Linked DNA regions of Homo sapiens: region 2 is linked to region 1. Evidence: promoter capture Hi-C in 16 types of primary human blood cells and fetal thymus (Javierre and others, 2016). All regions are on one chromosome and are shown on one strand. Each heading gives the region's core, a stretch centred on a gene start or on the middle of the fragment in contact. The rest is flanking DNA. Distances are from core to core; before and after follow the strand shown. Region 1 holds the start of C1QTNF7 (C1q and TNF related 7). Region 2 overlaps C1QTNF7-AS1 (C1QTNF7 antisense RNA 1).

Evidence for each region. Contacts are between HindIII fragments. The CHiCAGO score rates a contact against its expected background, and 5 or more counts as called.
Region 2: a fragment that was not itself captured here is called in contact with the fragment with the promoter of C1QTNF7 in region 1 in 2 of 17 cell types (M1 macrophages and naive B cells); the score reaches 6.0 in M1 macrophages.

Annotation. Positions count from the first base shown.
Region 1 is chr4:15,426,003-15,430,530 of GRCh38, reverse strand. C1QTNF7 (C1q and TNF related 7) reads right to left here and starts at 2,498. Exons shown (of 3, transcript NM_031911.5): 1 at 2,425-2,498. C1QTNF7-AS1 (C1QTNF7 antisense RNA 1) reads left to right here and starts at 2,617. Exons shown (of 6, transcript NR_125911.1): 1 at 2,617-2,702. The HindIII fragment of the contact is 5,402 bases long and covers 1-3,707 here.
Region 2 is chr4:15,260,106-15,264,708 of GRCh38, reverse strand. It overlaps C1QTNF7-AS1 (C1QTNF7 antisense RNA 1), which reads left to right. Exons shown (of 6, transcript NR_125911.1): 2 at 1,245-1,312. Among named protein-coding and RNA genes, the nearest start is that of C1QTNF7-AS1, 170 kb to the left of the region's middle. The HindIII fragment of the contact is 157 bases long and covers 3,077-3,233 here.

The sequences.
Region 1 (4,528 bases), core at 1,249-3,748:
CCTTAGCTGTCACTCCACATACAATATGCTTTAAAACATTGAATTGAATTCATGAGTAGCTGGGACTACAAGTGTGTGCCACCACACCTGGCTAACTTTTGTATTTTTTAGAGAGATGAGGTTTCACCAAGTTACCCAGGTTGGTCTTGAACTCCTAAACTCAAGCGATCTGCCCACCTCGCCCTCCCAAAGTGCTGGGGTTTCAAGAGTGAGCTGCCACGCCCAACCTGGAAATACTGTTAATCTTGAACACGTCTGTCCTGGATGCTAATTATAAATAATCCTCCATCCTATTTTTCTGTAGGGATTACAAAGTAACAGGTTTTTGTTTTTAAAACACATTTAAAAAATTTAATTTGTGTTAGTTTAGATTCAAGAGGCTCCATGTTCATGTGCTTATATTTGAGGCAGAAATGTTGTATATAGTATTTTGTGAATTTATTTAGTCATGGAGCCCTTTGTTCTCGCTAAACTAGCCATGGAAAATACTTGGAGAAATACTGATTAACTCAGTACAAAGATTGAAATCCTGGAAAACATGTTCATAGATTGAGATCCCTTTGTAAATAGCATATTATTTTTTCCCCAGTGTAAGTAGACTCCAAGTATATTTTTTTCTTGGAAAAATAAAATATGTTGGTGGTGGGAATGTAAAATGGTGCAGCGCCTGTGGAAAACAGGATAGTGATTCCTCAAAAAAATTAAAGAGAATTACCATATGATATGGCAATTCCACTTTGGGGCATATATCCAAAAGAAGTAAAATCAGGGACTCAAACAAATATTTGCACATGCATGTTCGTAGCAGCAAGGACTCAAACAGATATTTGCATAGCCATATCTGCAGCGTTATTCACAATAGGCAAAAGGTGGAAGCAACCCAAGTGTCCATGGAAAGGTGAATGGATAAACAAAACCTGGTCTACACGTACAATGGAATCTTCTTCAGCCTTAAAAGGAAAGGAGATACTGACACATGCTACAACATGAGGAACCCTGAAGACAGTATATTATGTGAAATAAGCCAGTCACAAAAGGACAAATATTGTGTGATTCCTCTTACACAAAGTTCCTAGAGTAGTCACATTCATCAAGACTGAAAGTAGAATACTCACTGTTGGAGGAGGAAGGGAAGAGGGGAATGGGAATTTATGGTTTCATGGGTATAGAGAGTTTCAGTTTGGGAAGACGAAGAAGTCCTGGAGAGATGGTGATGATACTGCATAACAAAATGAATGTATTTAATGCTGCAGAACCGTACACATAAGAATGGTTGAAATGGTAAATTTTATGATATGTATATTTTACCATAATTAAAAAAACTGAATAAAAATGAATTGGAATGCAGGGAGAGCCCAGTATTCTTATTTCTGTGCCAGGTGTTTTAAGGACATCTTTTACTTTATCCTCACACCACTTGTTATGAAGTAAGTGCTATTACCTTCACTTTATAAGTAAGAACATTGATACTCTGTGGGCTCAAGTCCACACAGGCATGAAATGGTGCAGCCAGAATTTGTACTGAGTTCTTTTGTCTTCAAACACTTGAGTTTGTCCCTACATCATGTGAGGGAAACTATAACATATTACTTCATGACAAAGGGCTGGACTTGATAATTAATTCAAGTTGAAAATGTGCTTTGCCTGGAAATCATTAAGAAGAGAATAGGTAACCAGGAAAAGCCAAAACGGGACATTTTCTTGGCCTGCAGAGGTGGAGATTTCACAACAGCAAGCTCTGTGTTTCTCTTGTTGCACTGGGAGTGGCACTGTGATTGGGACAGGATGGAGACCTGAGCTGCTCATGCCTCAGTTCCTTTTATGTTGTTGTTCACCAGTTCTTTGCTTTTGGGGGCTCCAATTTTCCTCTGCAGAACTGCTTTTCCTGTTTGCCATGAATTAACCTCCTTCTCCTCCTGGCACTACTCAAGTCCCTGCAAGGCCACACAATTGCACTGTGTTATGGCTATCTATTGACTTGCTTGTTTCCCCACTAAAATGCAAACTCTAGGACAGAGACTAGTCTACAGTAGAGGCTCAATGAAGAAAAAAAAATTCATCAATATTTATTATTGTCAACAGTTCATTATTGATAAAGTTTTGACTACTTTATGGCACAGTGATTAAAAAAAACCCTGACATTTGCAAAACATTTTATATCCTAGAGAGCAATGCTAAGCCCATATCGTCCTCCCCAAAACCATCTTGTGGTAGGTTAGATGGGGAACCAAGGTCCTGAGAAGTCCCGCAACTTGTCTATGGTTAGAAAGCTAGTGTCAGTCCAGAGACTTGAAGCTAGGTCTTCAGTTTTATGGATTCTTCCTACAGAGCCATCTGTTTAATAAGCTAAAAAGCTCCCGTCACGAGAACAGGCCATTGCATCTACATTTGCCAAAATTCTAAAAAAAAGAGTAAACACCATACCTTGCTCTTAGATGGTGGGCTGCTGCAGGATTCTAAATCCACAAGAGACTGAGGATCTTTCATGAGAGCTCAGTGAAAAACTTGCTTTGGTACCAGACAGAATAACAGATCCAAATTCTCAAAGATTTCCAAATAGTTGTGCTAAAAATAATTTTCTCGTTTAGTCCCAAAGAGCCAAAGGCCCTGGAAGTCATTCATCGAGTGAGGCTCAACTCGGGGACCAGTTAAAATTACAGTTTTGTTTGGGATAAACTTTAAGTGCCTGCTTTCCTTCAGTGGTAAGTTTAGAGCTTCTCCATCTCTGTGTGTTGTGGCCTCTTTTTCAGATTTGTTTACTTAATTTTTTCCCTCTTCATTTGTTTTCCACTGAGTGAATGTTTCAGGAAAAAAATTACTCACTGACTGGAAATTAGTTGTTAACTTAGAGAAAAAAGCCATTTTATATTTGAGAGTTTTGGAGGTAGAGCCTTTAGATTCTGGACCTAGGATGGTGTCTTGTGGAATAATGAACACTGTCCCTATTCTTGGTAAATATGGCAGGAAAATAGCCCCTCATTCTATGTGCTGTGCAAAGAAAGAGGGTTATGAGAATTGCACTGATTTTGTTTTCTTTGTTCTTTGCTGAATGGATAAATGATTGGGTATTTTTAGAAAACTAATATGTCTTTGTGCCTGTAAAGAACTGATCATAACATCTCAAAAGGCAGAATGATTCTCCAAAGCATATGACTAGTCGTCTATGGTGCAATCAATTTCTTTGTTTCCTTCTGCTATGTATTTCTTATATTTCCTTGGCAACAGCAATATATAATTTATGATGTCATTTATGGAAATTAGACGACTGAAAAAAATCTTGTTTTTATCTTTCTTTTCCTCTCATTCTTCTCAAGCAATGAGAACTCTAATTGAAAGGAATGTTTCCAGAGTTAGTGAAGTGGATGTTGACCACACACTTGACCAACGAGATTGCTGGGCTCCCCGTTCTGACCAGCTTAATTTTGCCTTTGGGATCCACTCTCCACACTGGAGGAAATGGTCCTTTGAATTTGTTGGCTTTCCAAAATCTTAATGCCATCATAGGATGGTCAAAACAATGTCTTGAGCATAGAAGCTAGTCATAACTTATTGCTAAATTAGAGTCAGATTTTAATCAGATAAAGTCTCTGTGTCTGTTTTCTCACTTTCAAAATAAGATGGTTGTCCTTGATTATTTCCAGGGTTTCTCATAGTTCTTAATATTCTCGAACCAAATGATGGTGTCTGATGTCACCCATTTACAAGCTTAATTTCAGGTGATACAGCCTTTTAATATGTTCATTTATTTGTTTATAAGTGATAACTTCTTAAGTGGGCTTTTTCCATTATGTCTGCTTTGGAGTAGCCCAGTCTCTGCCAGGGAGCTCAGAAGTGGATGAATTTGTAGACCAATAAAAGAATAGATGCATTCTTATTTTTCTGCCTTAAAGTGTTGATACAATTTGTGGATATTCATATTTTCTTTTCTGTGTCATTCACAACTTCTCTAATTTCTCTTTAATGTTACTTACCACATAAAATAAGGTTTTTTGTATCATTAAAGTATTACAGTATTTTTTCTGTTCTTCAATAAAAATTGAATTTCTTCTTTTTCTTCTTTATTATTTTCATCCCAGATAATTTATTGTAATCTGTGTCTTTCTGAACTCATTCTTTTTCCCAGAGAGAATGAACCTTTGAAAATGTCTCTGAGAGTGTTCAGAACCTCAGATGTTGATAAAGCTTGTCAGTGTCTATTTCACTCAGTTATTTTCACACTTAGAAGCAGTGGTGAAGTGATGGGTAGAAAAATATGCTTAAGGAAGTATTGGCTCAGAGTAAAAGTCAGATTCCATTTTTACCTGCCACTCACCCCAAGGACGGGGTCTTATTTTGTCTTTCCTAGGCAGATAATCTTCCTTTCTCAACTTGTGCTCTTTTTTACCCCATATCCTTTATTTACTTTTCAACTGAATTCATTCCATTCCATTCCAATCCCATCAGTGTTCCCAGAGCACCTAACAGTTTGCCGCTAACCTAGCTCTCAAAAAGAAGGTTCAGATTTGTAGCTTTTGTTAGTTTTCTTGGA
Region 2 (4,603 bases), core at 1,906-4,405, 170 kb after region 1:
CTGGCCTGCAAGGTTACTGCTGAGAAATTTTTTGGAAGTCTTAAAAACATTCCCTTATATGAGACAAGTTACATTTATCTTCTTTCAAAATCCTCTCTTTGACTTTGACTTTTGGCAATTTAATTATAATGTCTGTCAGTATAGACTTCTTTGTGTTCAATGTATTTGAGGTCCTTTGGGATTCTTGAATCAGGATGCCCATTTTCTTCTTCTGATTTGATCATCTTTTGGTCATTATTTCTTAAATAAATTTTCTTTTTTTTCTTTGTCTTATCCATCTCGAGCATTCGTAATGCATGTATTAGTTTGTGTAATGGTGTCCCATAAATTTATTGTCTTTCTTCATTGTTTTTAACATTTCTTTTTTCTCTTATGACTGATAAGAATCAGCAAACTCAAAGACAGATCATTTTATTGATCAAAATGAATTTTTAACTTCATTCATTGTATTCTTCAGCTCTATAATTTCCATTGAGTTCTTTTTAACGATTTCTGTCTTTCTTTAGCTTCTAATTTTTTTATGCATTGTTTCCCTGACTTTGTTGAGTTGTCAATCTGTGTTCTTTTGTAGATCACTGAGCATTTTAAAAATAATTATTATGAATTCCTTGTCAGGCAATTCACAGATCTCCATTTTGTGGGGTTGTTTACTGGAATTTTTTTGTTTTTTGTTGGTGGTGTCATGTTTCCTTCTTGTGTGTATCCTTGCATGGGTGTCTACCTATTTGGAGGAGCAGTCACCTGTTCCAGTCTTTGGGGACTGACTTTGATAGGAAAATTTTTTTACCTGTAGGTGGACACAAGGGCACTGGCTGGTTGGTCTGCATAGTGGTGTTGGATCTGGCATCAGATCCAGGGATGTATAGGGATGCAGGTTCCAAGAGTGCATTGAGGCACTGGTTCTGAGGATGTGTAAGCGTTCTAGTTTGGGGGCATGTAGCAGTGCTGGGTCTAGTGGGGGTGTGGTAGCATTGGATCTGGTATGTATGCAGTGGGGCTGGGTCATGGGTTTTCCAGCAGTGCTGGGGTCTGGTGTGCATGTGGAGGCACTGGATCCAGGGGCTGTTTGGTGGTGGTGCCAGGTCCAGAAGCCAGGGGCATGTATAGCTGCTCTGCATCCAGGTTAGTATAGAAACATGATTTCTGGGCCATTCCATCAGCTGGGATCTGTGTTGTTGAAGACTGTGGGAGTCTTTGGCAGAGAGAGCTGATAGGGGTTTTCTATTTTTATTTTCCTCTATAAGGAAAAGCCACATCCAAGGGGATTCCTTTTGTTACTGAGTTGTGCCAGCTAGGGGACAAGGTGACACAGGTAAGATACTTCCTACACTTTTATATGTGGCCATCTCAGTTTTAGTGCTTGACTGTGTTGCTCTAGCTTCTTAATTTTACTTTACAATTCTCCCAGAGCTATTTTTATCCATGAATGTTGTTATTGTTTATGTGGAGTATCTGTTTGTTTGGGCTGCTATAACAAAATACAGACATACCTCAGAGATATTGCAGGTTGTATTCCAGAGCACTGCATTAAAGTGAATATTGCAAGAAAGTGAGTCACACAATGGTTATGGTCTTTCGGTGCATATAAAAGTTATGTTTATACTATACTGCAGTAAATTAAGTGCAAAATAGCATTATGTCTAAATAACAATATACGTACCCTCATTAAAAGATACCTTACTGACTGGGCACAATAAAGTACTGTGGCTTATGCCTGTAATCCCAGCACTTTGGAAGGCTGAGGTGGGAAGACTGCTTGAGCCTAGGAGTTTGATTCCAGGCTGAAAAACACAGCAAAACACCATCTCTACAAAGAAAAAGAAAATTACAAAAAATTAGCCAGGTGTGGTGGCACATGCCTGTAGTCCCAGCTGTTCAGGAGACTGAGGTGGGAGGATCACCTGAGTCTGGGAGATTGAGGCTGCAGTGAGCCATGATTATGCCACTGCATTCCAGCTTGGGTGATAGAGACCCTGTTTCAAAAATAAAAAATATAAAATAAAAAAACTCAAAACAAACAAAAAATACTGTGTTGCTAAAAATTGCTAACAGTCATCTGTGCCTTCAGTGAGTCATAATCTTTTTGCTGGTAGAGGGCCTTGCCTCTGTGTTGATGGCTGCTGACTCATCAAGGTGGTGATTGCTGGAGGTTGGGTTGACACTGGAAATTTCTTAAAATAAGACAACAATAAAGTTTGTCACATTAATTGACTTATTTCCAGAAAAGATTTCCCTGTAGCATGCAATGCTGTTTGATGGCATTTTACCCACAGTAGAACTTTTTCCAAAATTGGAATCAACCCTCTCAAACTCTGTTGCTGCTTTATCAACTAAACATATGTATATTTTACATTTTTTGTTGTCATTTAAACAATGTTCACAGCATCTTCACCAAAAGTAGATTCCATTTCAAGAAGCACTTTCTTTGTTCATTCATAAATGCAACATGGATGAGACTGGGCACGTTCAGGGTGGTATGACCATAGACTATAAGTGCAACTTCATACCCTTTCAAGTTTTATTATGAGACTGCGCAATTCAGTCACGTCTTGAGGCTTCATTTTAAATTCTAGTTCTCCTGTTATTTCTGCCACATCTGCATATGCTTCTTCTGTTGAAGTCCTAAACCCCTCAAAGTCATCCATGAGAGCTGAAATAAACTTCTTCCAAACTTCTGCTAATGCTGATATTTAGACATCCTCCCATAAAATGAATTTAATGGCAGCTAGCATGGTGAATCCTTTCCAAGTTTTCAGTTTACTTTGCCCAGATTCATCAGAGGAATCACCATCTATGGTAGCCATACCCTTATAAATGTACTTTTTAAATAATATTTGAGAGTAAAAATTGCTCCTTGATCCATGGGCAGCAGAAAGGATTCTGAGTGAGCAGGTATAAAAACAACATTAATCTTCTTGTACATTTCCATCAGAGCTCTTGGGTGATCAGGTACGTTGCTAATATGCAGTAATATTTTGAAAAGAATATCTTTTCTTTTTCTAAGCAGTAGGTCTCAACAGTGGTTCTAACATATTCAGTAAACTGTGATATAAACAGATATGCTGAAATCCAAGCTTTGTTGTTTTATTTATAGAGCACATGGAGAGTAGATTTGGCATAATTCTTACTGGCCCTAGGACTTTCAGAATGGTAAATGAGCATTGGCTTCAACTTAAAGTCACTAGCTGCATTAGCCTCTAATAAGAGAGTCAGATTGTCCTTTAATTAAAGCTTTGAAATCAGGCATGACTTCTCCTGTCTAGCTATCAAAGTCTTAGATAGCATCTTCTTCTAATATAAGGCTGTTTTATTAATATTAAATATCTGTTGTTTAGTGTAGCCACCTTTGTAAATATTCTCAGCTAGATCTTCTGGATAACTTGCTGCAATTTCTCCTTCAGCAATTGCTGTTTAATATTGCAATTTTGTTATGAAAATAACTTCTTTCCTTAAACCTCATGAACCAACCTCTGCTAGCTTACAATGTTTTTCTACAGTTCCTTCAGTCTTCAGAGAATTGAAGAGAGTTAGGACTTTGCTCTGGATTAGCCTTTGGCTTAAGGGAATGTTTTGGCTGGTTTGATCTTCTATTAAGATCACCAAAACTTTCTCCATATCAACAATAAGGCTGTCTCGCTTTCTTATCATTTGTGTTCACTGGAGTGCACTTTGAATTTCCGTCAAGAACTTTTCCTTTGTGTTTACAACTTGAGGCTGTTTGGCATGGGCTTTTGGCTTATCCTGGCTTTTGACATGCCTTATTCACTAAGCTAATTGTTTCGACATGTGACTCTTCCTTTCACTTGGACACTTGAGGCCATGCTGGGTTATTAATTGGCCTAATTTCAGTATCATTGTGTCTCAGGGAATAGAGACACTCAAGAGCAGAAACATAAATGGGGGAACTACTGGTCAGTGGAGCAGCCCGTGCACACACAACATTTATCGATTAAGTTTGCAATCGTATATGAGTATGATTTGTGCTGCTCCCAATCAATTGCAATGCTAACATCAAAGATCACTAATCACATATCACCATACAAATATAATAATAATGAAAAAGTTTGAAATATTGTGAGAATTACCAATATACGACATAGTGACATGAAGTGAGAATGTGCTGTTGGAAAAATGACAGATAAACTTGTTCGATGCAGGATTGTCACAAACCTTTAATTTGTGGAAAAGGTAATATCTGCCAAGCTCAATAAAGCAAAGGGCAGTAAAACAGGTATGCCTATACCATAAGCTGGGTGGCTTGTAAACAACAGAAATTTAATTCTCACAGTTTTTGAGACTAGAAGTCTGATATCAGGGTCTCGGCATGGCCCAGCTCCTGGTGAGAGTTGCCTTCTGGATGGCAGACTGCCTACTTCTTCTTGTGTCATCACATGGTAAATGAGATGAATTATCCATCTGGAATCTCTTTTATAAGGGCTCTAATACAAATATTGAGGCTCCGCCCTCATGATCTAATCTCTTCCTAAACGCTCCACTTTCTAATACTATCACCTTGGGGGACAGGATTTCAATGTATGAATTTGGTATTGGGGGAGGTGGGCAGGACACAAACATTCAGCTCAAAGAATGGTGGGATGAGGGC